Linked DNA regions of Homo sapiens: all the other regions are linked to region 2. The links are contacts of gene promoters, found by promoter capture Hi-C in human tissues and cell types (Jung and others, 2019). All regions are on one chromosome and are shown on one strand. The core of a region is centred on a gene start or on the middle of the fragment in contact, and the rest is flanking DNA. Distances in the headings are between cores, read along the strand shown.

Evidence for each region. Contacts are between HindIII fragments. The study calls those that stand out against the background at their distance.
Region 1: a fragment that was not itself captured here is called in contact with the fragment with the promoter of UNC5A in region 2 in 1 of the 25 tissues and cell types used here (dorsolateral prefrontal cortex).
Region 3: a fragment that was not itself captured here is called in contact with the fragment with the promoter of UNC5A in region 2 in 3 of the 25 tissues and cell types used here (lymphoblastoid cells, mesendoderm cells and neural progenitor cells).
Region 4: a fragment that was not itself captured here is called in contact with the fragment with the promoter of UNC5A in region 2 in 4 of the 25 tissues and cell types used here (IMR-90 fibroblasts, dorsolateral prefrontal cortex, lymphoblastoid cells and 1 more).
Region 5: a fragment that was not itself captured here is called in contact with the fragment with the promoter of UNC5A in region 2 in 2 of the 25 tissues and cell types used here (dorsolateral prefrontal cortex and mesendoderm cells).

The regions. Positions count from the first base shown.
Region 1 is chr5:177,015,166-177,017,865 of GRCh38, reverse strand. It overlaps a transcript of UIMC1 not described here. Among named protein-coding and RNA genes, the nearest start is that of ZNF346, 6.2 kb to the left of the region's middle. The HindIII fragment of the contact is 8,034 bases long and covers 1-2,700 here.
Region 2 is chr5:176,809,165-176,811,864 of GRCh38, reverse strand. It overlaps UNC5A (unc-5 netrin receptor A), which reads right to left and starts at 1,306. Exons shown (of 15, transcript NM_133369.3): 1 at 1,045-1,306. The coding sequence starts at 1,114. The HindIII fragment of the contact is 11,668 bases long and covers 1-2,700 here.
Region 3 is chr5:176,972,118-176,974,817 of GRCh38, reverse strand. The region is part of intron 3 of UIMC1 (ubiquitin interaction motif containing 1); the gene reads left to right. Among named protein-coding and RNA genes, the nearest start is that of UIMC1, 33 kb to the left of the region's middle. The HindIII fragment of the contact is 4,949 bases long and covers 1-2,700 here.
Region 4 is chr5:176,989,561-176,992,260 of GRCh38, reverse strand. The region is part of intron 1 of UIMC1 (ubiquitin interaction motif containing 1); the gene reads left to right. Among named protein-coding and RNA genes, the nearest start is that of UIMC1, 16 kb to the left of the region's middle. The HindIII fragment of the contact is 7,516 bases long and covers 1-2,700 here.
Region 5 is chr5:177,034,993-177,037,692 of GRCh38, reverse strand. The region is part of intron 1 of ZNF346 (zinc finger protein 346); the gene reads right to left. Among named protein-coding and RNA genes, the nearest start is that of ZNF346, 14 kb to the right of the region's middle. The HindIII fragment of the contact is 3,200 bases long and covers 1-2,700 here.

The DNA.
Region 1 (2,700 bases), core at 190-2,689, 210 kb before region 2:
ATCATGGGCAACATGGCAAGACCCTATCTCTACAAAATTAAAAAAATTAGCTGGGTGTGGTGGTGTGTGCCTTTGGTCCCAGCTACTCAGGAGGCTGAGGTGAGAGGATCACTTGAGCCTGCAGTGAGCTGTTGTACCACTGCACTACCACCTGGGTGACACAGCAAGACCCTGTCTCAAAAAAAAAAAAAAAAGGGCCAGCGTGGTGGCTCAGGCCTGTAATCATAGCACTTTGGGAGGCCAAGTGGGCGGATCACCTGCGGACAGGAGTTCAAATGGTGAAACCTCGTCTCTACTAAAAAATACAAAAATTAGCTAGGCATGGTGGCAGAAGCCTGTAATCCCAGCTACTCAGGAGGCAGAGGCAGGAGAATTGCTTGAACCCAGGAGACGGAGGTTGCAGTGAACCGAGATTGCGCCACTGTACTCCAGCCTGGGCAAGAAGAGCAAGACTCCATCTCAAAAAAATAAAAAAGAGGGAGATGACAGCCAAGGCTAGTGGGCTAGTGTGGATGGGGTGGGACAATGAATCTACCATGTGGGGATCAGAATGGTATCTGAGTTACCTCCTAATAGTCTTTTTATTTCTCATCTCTAAGAACACATCTCAAACTATTAGAGGTGGCCACAGATTAGCTTTTACTAACAGGATGTAAAGAAGTGTTGTTTGAATCAGAATCTGAGATTGGTCCAGAACAGAAGGGGTGCTCTTGAGGAGAACTGTGGAACTACCAAGCCCAGCAGGGGCCCAGGGGCACATCTTTGCTGCAATCCTAGTCCACTTCTCAGGCTTCTTTATTTCATTTCATTTTTCATTTCATTTCATATTTCATTTCATTATTTTGACAGAGGTTCACACTTGTCACCCAGGCTGGAGTGCAATGGCGCAATCTCAGCTCACTGCAACCTCTGCCTCCTGGGTTCAAGTGATTCTCCTGCCTCAGCCTCCTGAGTAGCTGGGACTAGAGGCACCCGCCACCATGCCTGGCTATTTTTTGTAATTTTAGTAGAGACGGGGTTTTACCATGTTGGCCAGGGTGGTCTTGAACTCCTGACCTCAGGTGATTCACCTGCCTCGGCCTCCCAAAGTTCTGGGATTACAGGCATGAGCCGCCGCGCCCGGCCTACTGGATAATTTTCTTTTTTGAGACGGAGTCTCACTCTGTTGCCAGGCTGGAGTGCAGTGGCATGAGTGCAGTGGTAAGATCTCGGCTCACTGCAACCTCGGCTGACTGCAACCTCTGCCTCCCAGGTTCAAGCGATTCTCCTGCCTCAGCCTTCTGAGTAGCTGGGACTAGAGGTGCGTGCCACCACACCCAGCTAATTTTTTTGTATTTTTAGTAGAGGGGCGTTTCACCATGTTGGCCAGGATGGTCTCGATCTTTTGACCTCGTGATCCGCCCGCCTCGGCCTCCCAAAGTTCTGGAATTACAGGCATGAGCCACCGTGCCCAGCCTGGATAATTTTATAGTATTTTGTTTGTTTGGTTTTGTTTTGTTTTTGAGATGGAGTCTTGCTCTGTCATCCAGGTTGGAGGGCAATTACATGATCTCGGCTCACTGCAACCTCTGCCTCCCAGGTTCAAGCGATTCTCCTGCCTCAACCTCCTGAGTAGCTGGGATTACAGGCACCAGCCACCATGCCTGGCTAATTTTGTATTTTTAGTAGAGACGGGGTTTCACCATGTTGGTCAGGCTGGTCTTAAACTCCTGTCCTCAGGTGATCCCCCCACCTTGGCCTCCCAAAGTGGTGGGATTATGGGCATGAGCCACCGCGTCCTGCCTCTTTTTTTCTTTTTTGAGATGGAGTCTTCTTCTGTTGCCCAGACTGGAATGTGGTAGCGTGGTCTCGGCTCACTGCACCCTCAGCCTCCCGGGTTCAAGTGATTCTGTCTCAGCTGCCTGAGTAGCTGGGATTACAGATGTGCGCCACCACGTCTGGCTAATTTTTTAATTTTAGGTAGAGACAGGGTTTCACCATGTTGGCCAAACTGGTCTCGAACTCTTGACCTCAAGTGATCTGCCTGTCTCAGCCTCCCAAAGTGCTGGGATTACAAGTGTGAGCCACCATGCCTGGCCTAATTTTATGGTATCTTTAGGGACGCAGGGAAGCAGTGTCTTCAGGGGATGCCAGGTTTTAATTTAGAGACTTTCTAAGGACAGATTGAGGGCAGAGGGGAGTCTGTTGATCACAGACTGGGATTTACAGAGGATTTTGGGTTAGAGTCAAGTAATGCTTTCCAGCCTTTTCTCCATTATAGTCCACATAGAAAATGAGCATATCTGTATAGCATGTTAGAGTAAACAGATAAGGTTGCTCCTCCTCATCACTGCAGTGACAGTTTGGGAATTCCAGCCACTCTACATGCCCCGCTGGGCCACCCTTGGAGCTGGAGGGATGTATGTCCAGAGCCATATCAGGAAGAGAGTCCAGCTGCAACAGATAGCCGTCATATCTTGAACCCTGACAATGTCTGAGGCAAGCAGGCTGGGGATTAACCACAAATCTCTGAGAATTGAGCAGTTAACGCTGTGTGGTACTTAGCTTGACATGTATTGCTCCATTCTGCATGCATGAGTTATGTGATCTTAGGTAAATTCCTTAACATTTGTGAGGCTGCTTCTCCATCTGTAAAATGAGGAGATGATACCCACCTCAAATGGTTGTTGTGAAGATTAACTAATATAATCTCCGTAAACT
Region 2 (2,700 bases), core at 57-2,556:
GTTATAAGCAGCGGCCTGGCCAGGCTGGGGAGTAACCGCCCAGGTTCTAGGGGCAGCAAGAATCGAGAATTGCCAGGGTAAGCCTCAAGCCCCCTTGACCACACAAATGGCACCCACCCCCCACCACCACAGACACATACGCTCAACTCAGCTAAGTGCATGGGGGGCAGAGATCAGGAGGCCCCCACAGCTCAGCCTAGGTGAAGGCTCAGGGACAGCAGACAAAGGATGCAGGGGAACTTCCTCCCCCCAAGCCCCTCCCAAGGGAATGAGGTGGGCTGAGGGCTGAGTTAGCAGTGGGTTAGGGTGACCAATGGGGCATGCAGGGGCCAAGAAAGGCTATGGAGTTTAAGGAAGAAGGGGAAACTGGCGGACCAACCACACACAACTCTGGCCCCCCGCACCAGGGAGGCCAGGAGCCACAGCCCCGGCCACCGGGACCGCGGCGCTTTGACTGTGCTGGCTGCAAGGACTGGGGGCTGGTGTATGCGCCTCCACGCCTGAGTGTGTGCGTGTGAGAGCGTGTGTGGCGGGGACAGAGGAGGACACTGTGTTCTGGACGTGGGCAGAGGCCAGGTGCCAAGCTGGGAGATTGTGAGTGGCTGTTTAGGGCAGATGCTACCGGGAAGAGGTATCTTAAACGTTCCCCGCACCCCCCATTTCCTGGGCACTGGGATAGGCTCAAAACCCTCTAATCTTCGAATCCTCAAAGTCAGGCTCCCTGGGGTTGATCCAAACCCCCAGCCCTGCTCCGGGCCCAGGCAACCAGCAAACTTCCCCCACCCGGAGGCGTGGGGTGTCTACACTCGCCAGCCCCGCGGGCTGACAGCTGCTCCTGGACTTGGCAGAACCCAGGCTTCCGGGAGAGCGCGCGGGGAAGCTGCGCAGCAGCAAGAAGAGCCCCCCGCGTCCCGCCTCGCAAAGTTTGGCCTCGGGGGGCTCCCAGCCGGGTCTGGCAGCGCTGGTCAGGGACCCCCAGAGCAGCGAGCGTTCGCGCGCACGGTCCCCCGCAAGCCTCCCCAGAGCGCGCGCGGCGTGACTCACCCGAGCCGCGGAGCCAAGCGGCGAGGACTATGCCCAGGAGCGCTGGCCACAGGCCGGGCCGGACGGCCATGGCCGCGGGCGGGCAGGCGGGCGGGCCGGGCGCGGGGCCCCGCGGGCGGGAGGGCGGCTTTAGCGCCTCAGCCCGGAGCCCCAGCTCGGGGCGCCCCCGGGGCCCATGCCAGCGGACTGCGCTGCCTCCGGGCGGCCGGCTGCCGGGCGCACGCGGCGCGTGGCTCCCTTGGGCACGGGAGCGCAGCAATGCAGCCGGGGCGGAGCGCAGCGCCAGCCGCGCCGCGCACCGAGCCAGCCGCGCCGCGGAGCCCGCAGCCGGAGAGCGGGCCGGTGGGCGCCGCAAAACCCGGACTGGAGCGACGGAGCGGGGCGGCGGCTGGGAGGGGCGGGGGAAGGAAGGAGGGGCCGGGCCGCCCCGCGCAGCGCGCGCGGGCCACCCCCAGCACCGGGAATCCCTCTGGGCGATGCCTGAGGCTCCCCCAGGGAGGGGCTTGGGGTGGTGGGCGTGGAGGCCTCCCACCGCCCCGCGGGGTCTCCAGGGACAGGGGCAGGAGTCTGAAACCCGGAGTGGATCGGTGCTCCGGATCCGGGCTCTCGCGGGCCCGCCAGTCTGCGCACAGGTGGCCCGGGAGGGGCCCGGGGCTGCGGCGACCCCGGCGCGGCGCCAGCCTGCGGAGAGCCGCCCAGGGCAGGGGTGCCCCGGGCAGGTTCCGCTGCAGTCCTCTCCCCCGCCCTTTCCTCGCGGCCGCGCTCCGGGGTCGTCCGGGCGCCGCGGTACGCTGCCAGCCCGCGGCTTGGTTAGGGGACTGCGGGAGAGCCCCGGGGCCCTGGCCCGCGCGCAGAGGTGCCCTGGCCACCAGAGCTGGCAGGCCAGACTCGGGGACACCCGCAGTCCCAGCCTCGCAGGCTGGTGGATTCCAGGGGCGCGCCTCACACCATGACCCAAGGTTTCCCTAACCCCTCGGCGCCGTTCGCCGAAGGAAAACAACCTTCAGGCGCAGCACACCCGACTGGGCGCGCGGTGTTTGAGCCCCGAGAGCGCACGGCGCCCGCGACGTGGGTGTAAAGGAACGAGCTGGGCTTTGGCAGCTAGGGAGACCGGGGGTAGGGTCCAGGCGACTTCACCTTCCAGCTCTGTGACCTTGGTCAAGTCACGTCGTCTCCTGGAGCCTCCAGCAGTGACCGCTGCTGGAGTCTCCTGTGCCCCACCCCCATTCCCTAATCGGGTTAAAATAAACAGAGGGCTGCCTTGAAGGAGAAAGGAAATGACAGCCGCGTGCGGTGTGCCTGGGGGGAGTGATCGGAAAAAGAGAGGGTCCTAGTCTGGGTCGGGAGGGGAATGAGCAGGGTGAGGGCAGGGTCGCAAACTCAAACGCCTACGGGGCCGGTCGATAATATAAATTGGCGCTGCAGGCTAGGCGATGTAAGGGATGGTCTTGCTTCCACAAAGAGATATGAGCTCTCCTATATTTCTTGAGACACGAGGCCCTCTCTCGGTCTGTCTTTTGTTTCCCACTTTTGATAGAGAAGGGTTATGAAAAATGTTTTGCTTTCCTCTTAAGTCTACTATAAAAAACACCAGCTAAAGCTCCAGAGGCAACCATACAGACGCTGGGCTCCATCGCCAGGGAGGCAAAGGGCAGT
Region 3 (2,700 bases), core at 107-2,606, 160 kb before region 2:
TTTTGAGACGGAGCATCGTGCTCTGTCACCCGGGCTGAGTGTGCTGGCGTGATCTTGGCTCACTGCAACCTCTGCCTCCCGGGTTCATAACGATTCTCCCACCTCAGCCTCCTGAGTATATGGGCCTACAGGCACATGCCACTACACTCTGCTAATGTTTGCCAGGCTAGTCTCCAGCTCCTGACCTCAAGCGATCCACCCGCCTCAGCCTTCCAAAGTGCTGGGATTATAGGCATGAGCCACCATGCCTGGCTAGAACAGAAGTTTTAAACTTTGATGTGGTCCATTTTTTTCTCTTTTATGGTTTTTTTTCTTTCTATGTCCTAAGAAATCTTTGACTACGCTAAGGTTATGAAGATTTCCACCTATTTTCTTCTGGAAATTTTATAGTTTTAGCTTTAGCATTTAGATTTCTGATCTATTTTGAGTTTTTGTATATGGTGCAAGGTAAGAATTAAGGTTCATTTTTTTCCCATATGGATATCCAATCATTCTTGTACCATTTGCTGGAAAGACTGTCCTTTCCTTGTGTTGAAAATCAATGCATGGGTCTATTTCTGAATTTTCTGTTCTTTTCCATTTATTTATGTTTGTCATTATGCCATACCACACTGTCTTGATTAATGTAGCTTTATAATGTCTTAAAATCAGGTAGTATAATTCTTCCAACTTTATTTTAAAAATTGTTTTGATTAATTTGGGTCCTTTGCATTCCTATATAAATTTAATTTTATTATTTGTTTATTACTACTGTTTTTTGAGGCAGGGTCCTACTCTGTCGCCCAGGCTGGAATATAGTGGTGTGACTGCAGCACTGTAGCCTCAACCTCCTAGGCTCAAGTGATCCTCCAGCTTTAGCCTCCTGAATAGCTGGGACTAACAGGCATGCATCACCATACCCAGCTAATTTTTTTTTCTTTCTTTTTGAGACAGGGTCTCCCTCTGTTGTCCAGGTTGGAATGCAGTGGCTCACTACAACCTCTGCCTCCTGGGCTCAAGTGATCCTCTCATCTCAGCCTCCCAAGTAGCTAGGACCACAGGTGTATACCACCACATCCAGCTAGTTTTTTATTATTTGTAGAGACAAGATCTCACTATGTTGCCTAGGCTGGTCTCGAACTGCTGGGCTTAAGTGATCTTCCCACCTCTGCCTCCTGAGTAGCTGAGACTGTAGGTGTGCATCACTACACCCAGCTATTTTTTAAAATTTATTTTTTTCTTTTCTTTTTTTTTTTTTTGAGACAGGGTCTCACTTTGTCACCTATGCTGGAATGCATTGGTGTGATCTTGGCTCACTGCAGCTTCGACCACCTGGACTTGAGCAATTATAGGCATGAGCCACTGTACCTGGCCCTGTTTTTCATTGTTACTCTCCTGAGGTGCCTTTTTAGACTATTTTTCCCTCTAACCACTGCCATCCCCATGATATTTTTAATACCACAGATAAGCTTTGTATTCCGTTTTATGTACTGATTGTATGTCTGTATCTTATATATAAAAAGATTTTTATTTTATTTTATTTTTGCCTCCAAGAACCAATTTTTGTCCACTTGGGGATGGTATCACTCTTGTTGAGAATGCATGATAGAAGTTGCCAGACTTGGCCATGCCCAGTGGCTCATGCCTGTGATCCCAGCACTTTGGGAGGCCGAGGCGGGTGGATCACCTGAGGTCAGGAGTTTGAGACCAGCCTGGCCAACATGGTGAAACCTCGTCTCTACTAAAAATACAAAAATTAGCCGGGCCTGGTGGCAGGCACCTATAATCCCAACTACTTCGGAGGCTGAGGGAGGAGTATCGCTTGAACCTGGGAGGCAGAGGTTGCAGTGAGCTGAGATCACGCCACTGCACTCCAGCCTGGGCAACAGAGAGAGACGCCATTTCAAAAAAAAAAAAAAAGAAGTTGCCAGACTTACTGGTATAAAATCATTCATAGTATTCCCTTATTTATTCTTTTAGTGACTGTAGAATTTATAATCTTGTTTCCTCTTTTATTGTCGGTATTGTTAATTGTTGTTGTGTTTTTGTTCTTGAGCAGTTAAGAGGTTTATGCATTTTAATTTTTTAATTTTTTAATTTTTTGAGATGGAGTCTTGTTCTGTCGCCCAGGTTAGAGCGCAGTTGCGTGATCTTGGCTCGCTGCAACCTCCGCCTCCCGGGTTTAAGCGATTCTCCTACCTCAGCCTCCCGAGTAGCTGGGATTACAGGCGCCTGCCACCACGCCCAGCTAATTTTTGTATTTTTAGTAGAGATGAGGTTTCACCATGTAGGCCAGGCTGGTCTCAAACTCCTGACCTCAGGTGATCTGCCTGGCTTGGCCTCCCAAAGTGCTGGGATTACAGGCATGAGTCACCGCTCCTGGCCGAGGTTTATGCATTTTATTGACCTTTTTGTAGAATTGATTTTTTTTTTTTTTTGAGACGGAGTCTCACTCTGTTGCCTAGGCTGGAGTGCAGTGGCGCATCTCTGCTCACTGCAAGCTCTGCCTTCAGGGTTCACGCCATTCTCCTGCCTCAGCCTCGTGAGTAGCTGGGACTATAGGCGCTCACCACCATGCCTGGCTGATTTTTTGTATTTTTTTAGTAGAGACGGGGTTTCACCGTGTTAGCCAGGATGGTCTCGATCTCCTGATCTCATGATCCGCCTACCTTGGCCTCCCAAAGTGCTGGGATTACAGGCGTGAGCCACCGCGCCTGGCCT
Region 4 (2,700 bases), core at 28-2,527, 180 kb before region 2:
ATACAGAAAAAACCAATTTTACACACAATTTTAGTTAATCCCCTGAAGCCAATCTATAGATTCTTTAAGGGCTTTTGGATTGACAGGTTAAGAACTCTTGGCTGGCAGTTCTCTAAGTATTAATCTATCTCTTCTTTTGAGATGAGGTCTCACTCTGTTGCCCAGGCTAGAGTGCAGTGGCGCCATCATGGCTCAATGCAGCCTCCACCTCCCTAGGCTCAGGTGATCATGCCACTTTAGCCTCTCAAGTAGCTGGGACTATAGGTGTGCACCACCACACCTGGCTAATTTTTAAAATTTTTTTGTAGAGGTGGGGTCTTTCTTTTTTTGAAACGGAGTCTCGCTCTGTCTCACAGGCTGGAGTGCAGTGACACAATCTCGGCTCACTGCAAGCTCTGCCTCCCAGGTTCACGCCATTCTCCTGCCTCAGCCTCCCGAGTAGATGGGACTACAGTTGCCTGCCACCACGCCCGGCGAATTTTTTGTATTTTTAGTAGACTTGGGGTTTCACCGTGTTAGCCAGGATGGTTTCGATCTCCTGACCTCGTGATCTGCCCGCCTCGGCCTCTCAAAGTGCTGAGATTACAGGTGTGAGCCACCGCGCCTGGCCTTTTTTTTTTTTTTTTTTTTGAGACGGAGTTTCACTCTTGTTGCCCAGGCTTGAATGCAATAGTGCCACCATGCCTGGCTAATTTTGTATTTTTAGTAGAGATGGGATTTCTCCATGTTGGTCAGGCTGGTCTTGAGCTCCCGACCTCAGGTGATCGAGAGGCAGTCTTTCTGTGTTGCCCAGGCTGGTCAGATCTGTCTTCTCAATTTGCCAGATTTCATATTCTTTCCCCTCAGTTGTCTTTGCTGTTTCTCCCCAAAGAGATTTGCTCTTTGGGTAGTCTTCATTATGGTAGTAGCAGACCTGAATCTAAAAAGGTAGAGTAAGGTGAATTAAAACTGAGGCCGGGCTTGGTGGCTCATGTCTGTAATCCCAGCACTTTGGGAGGCTGAGGCAGGTGGATCACGAGGTCAGGAGATCGAGACCATCTTGGCTAACACGATGAAACCCCATCTCTACTAAAAATGCAAAAAAAATTAGCCGGGCGTGGTGGCGGGCGCCTGTAATCCCAGCTACTCAGGAGGCTGAAGCAGGAGAATGGTGTGAACCTGGGAGGCAGAGCTTGCAGTGAGCCGAGATAGTGCCACTGCAGTCTGGCCTGGGCGAAAGAGCGAGACTCTGTCTCAAAAAAAATAAAAATAAAAATAAAAAATAAAATAAAAAATAAAACTGAGGACTTGATTAGTCATGATGGCTTGTGCTTCTAATCCTAGCATTTTAGGAGGCCAAGGCAGGAGGATCGTTTGAGGCCAGGAGTTCAAGACCAGCCTGGGCAACACAGCAAGACCCCCATCTCTTTAAAAAAAAAAATTAGCTGAGTGTTGTGGTGTACTCTTGTAGTCCTACCTACCTGGGAAGCTGGGGCAGGAGGATTCTTTGAACCTAAGAGTTACAGGTTGCAGTGAGCTATGATCATACACATTGCATTCAAGCCAAGGCAACAGAACAAGCCCCTATCTCAAGAAACAAAAACATAAATATAAAATCTATTTATATTAGAAATATGGCAACATTTGTACAAAGTTGCATGTGTTTTTTCCATTTCTGTTACAGTTTGGGGTTTAGAAAATTCACTTCTTGCGAATTAATATAAAATTAATTTATTTTAGGAAGTACAAATATGTCATCTTATTTGTGTTTTAATTTGTGTAATGGTAACTTGATAGGTTTTTAACCTTTTCCTGCTGCTATAACAGAATATCTTAGACTGGGTAATTTATAAACAATACAATTTTTTTTGTTCACAGTTCTGAAGTCTGGTAAATGTAAGATCAAGGTGCCTGATGAGGGCTTGCACTGTGCTTAAAAGATGGGACCTTCTTGCTGTGTCTTCACATGGCAGAAGGGTAAAAGGGGCAAACAGGTTCTCTTAGGCCTCTCTTATAAGGGCACTAGTCCCATTCATGAGTGCTGTGTCTTCATGACTTCCCTAAGTCCCCATTTCTTTCTTTGTTTTTGTTTTTTTTTTTTGTAACAGAGTCTCGCTCTGTTGCCCAGGCTGGAGTGCAGTGGCTCGATCTCGGCTCACTGCAAGCTCCACCTCCCGGGTTCACGCCATTCTCCTGCCTCAGCCTCCCGAGTAGCTGGGGCTACAGGCTCCCGCCACCACGCCTGGCTAATTTTTTTGTATTTTTAGTAGAGACGGGGTTTCACCATGTTAGCCAGGATGGTCTCGATCTCCTGACCTCATGATCTGCCTGCCTCGGCCTCCCAAAGTGCTGGGATTACAGACGTGAGCCACTGCGCCTGGCCCCAGGCCCCATTTCTTACCAACACATTGGGGATTAGATGTCAGCATATGAATTTTGGAGGGACACAAACATTTAGACCATAGTGGATAGGTCATATCTAGTTATCTAGTGAGATGTTACTGCTTTAGTATGAATTTATGTATACTTAAATAATAACTAGCTACCTCTGCATTGCATATGCAATAAATATTCTGTTAACTGTATTTAAATACAGAAGTTAAAAGTATATTTCTTTTTTTTTTTGAGGCAGGGTCTTGGTCGGTTGACTAGGCTGGAGTGCAGTGGTGTGATCTTGGTTCACTGCAACCTCCATCTCCTGGGTTCAAGCAATCCTGCCCC
Region 5 (2,700 bases), core at 121-2,620, 230 kb before region 2:
AGAATAGATGATGGAAGCTTGGACTAGGCAGGTTGTCAGTGGAGATGGAGAAAAGTGAATGAATTTGGAATTATGTTCCGGCAATAGGTTTGACATCTGATTTCTTAGACTGGATGTGGGGGTGGGAGTGAAGGAAGGAAAGGAGTCAAGGATAACTCCTAGGTTTTGAACTTGAACAAGTGAATAGATTAGAACTAGGGGAAGATAGCCTTGGAGGAAAAATTAAAGACTTTTCGTTATGTGAGTGTGAGTAGTCTATCAGATATATAGGTGGAGATGAGTTGGAGATTCAGATCTGTCAGTCACTTGAAGCTCAAGGGGGAGGTCAGAGCTGGAGATATAAATGGGGAATCATTGGTATATCAATCATATTGAACACTGTGGGGCTGGAAGAGATTGCCTAGCGTAGATGAAGAAGGAAAGAGGTTCAGAGACTGAGCCTTGGGACCCTCCCAATTTTGAAGTCAGGCAGAGGAAGCGAAGTTGAATATAAAACAAAGTGAGTACAGGGTGGAACTTCTGGCCAAGGCAGAGTGAGGAGATCTCCTGCAGAAGCAACAATAAAACAGGACAAAACTGACAAAACCGGACAAAACTGACAAAACCAACCACTTCAGCACTCTGGAAGTTAACCAAAGGGACTTAACAATCCGAGAGCAATTTTGTGCTTGCAAAACTGCTGAACTTCAGGTAAGAACAGTAGGAATCAGCGGCTTTTTTTTTTCCCCAGATGGGGAAAAACAAACAAACAAACAAAACCTCAGGGTTTCCCAGGCTGCAGTGCCCACACTGGAGTGCAGTGGCATAATGTCAGCTCACTGTAGCCTCAATTTCCCAGGCTCAGGTGAGGCTGCTCTCAGCCCTTCCTGCAATCGGTGTAGAAACTCTGGCAAGAAGGTGCTAGCCATGAAAACAAATAGCTTCCATACAGAAGGAAGGAAATCACTTGATTTCCTTTACATGTAGCAATATTGTTGATGGAAATGATGATCTCCAAGGCAGTAAGCAGGAAGAGTGAAAGGCTTCACTGGCCGGAGGTGTGCTCATGGTTGGGGCAAGTGTGTTCCTGGCTGAGACTGTGTGACAGCGGAGACCTGAGAGGGCCCAAGTTAGCCACATACTCATGGCCACCCTGAGGCTGCGTACACACACAAAAGAGATGCAAAAGGACCTCGTGGGAAGGGTAGATCTCAAAATGACTTGAACTTTGATTATGCTTCCCTACCAACACACAGATCCAACAATACAAAATCAAGGGCTTATAGGCTCCAGGTGTTTAGAACAAGATCTTGTTGAATCCCTAGTTAATCTGACCACTAAGCAACATAAACACATTAAAGTAGAAATTATAAAAGGGAACCAAATTGGGAATGTTTGCTTTTAAAGCCTTTGCCCACCATGTAAGCAGTCTGACTGCTCTGAGGCCACCAAGCTGTGAGAAACCCCAGACTATTTCATGCATCAAGACCACATGGAGAGTTCCTGACACCACATGAAAAGAGAGATGTCTGGCCAGCCCCCAGAGGCTCCACCCCGCTGTTGTTTCAGCTCTAGCTCCCAGATGCTCCATTTCCCTGCTGTTTCAACTTGAGCCACCATCTGACTGCAACTGCATAAGAGACCCTGAATCAGAACTATCCAGCCAAGCCTTTCCCAAATTCCTGGCCCACAAAAACTGAGAGGTTTATGAGGTTGGAGGAAGCTAAGGCCCACAGAGGGAAAAAAAAAAAAAACTTGGATAAAATTGTCAATTAGGCCGGGTGCGGTAGCTCACGCCTGTAATACCAGCACTTTGGGAGGCAGAGGCGGGCGGATCACGAGGCCAGGAGTTCAAGACCAGCCTGGCCAACATAGTGAAACCCTGTCTCTACTAAAAATACAAAAAAGTTTAGCCCCAGGGCATGGTGGCAGGTGCCTGTGTCCCAGCTACTTGGGAGGCTGAGGCAGGAGAATCGATTGAACCCAGGAGGCGGAGGTTGCAGTGAGCCGAGATCATGCCACTGCACTCCAGCCTGCGCGACACAGTGAAACTGTCTCAAAAAAAAAAAAAAAAAAAAAAGTCAATTAGCCGGGTGTGATGGTAAGGCACTTGTAATTCCAGTTACTCGGGAGGCTGAGACAGGAGAACTGCTTGAACCCGGGAGGCGGAGGCTGCAGTCAGCCAAGATTGCGCCATTGCACTCCAGCCTGGGCAACAGGAGTAAAACTCTGTCTCAAAAAAAAAAAAAAATTGTCAAAATTCTGAGATGGCAGCCTGACTACACATCCTTTTTGCCATGATATCTGCACACAACTTTAATCCAACTACCAACTATCTCTCCAGGGTGCAAAAGATTTGATATGGAAAATGAGGTGCTTTTCATTCATTCACTGGAGAGGCAGGGCGTGGTGGCTCAGCCTGTAATCCCAACACTTGGGAAGGCCAAGGCAGGTAGATTGCTTGAGGCCAGGAGTTTGAGACCAGCCTCGCCAACATGGCAAACCCCCGTCTCCACCAAAAATAAAAAAATTAGGCAGGCATGGTGCTATGTGCCTATAATCCCAGCTACTTGGGAGGCTGAGGCACAAGAATCACTTGAACCCAGGAGGTGGAGGTTGCAGTGAGCCAAGATCGTGCCACTACACTTGAGCCTGGGCGACAGAGTAAGACTCCATCTCAAAAAAAAAAAAGAAAAGAAAAGAAAAGAAAAAGAAAATCAC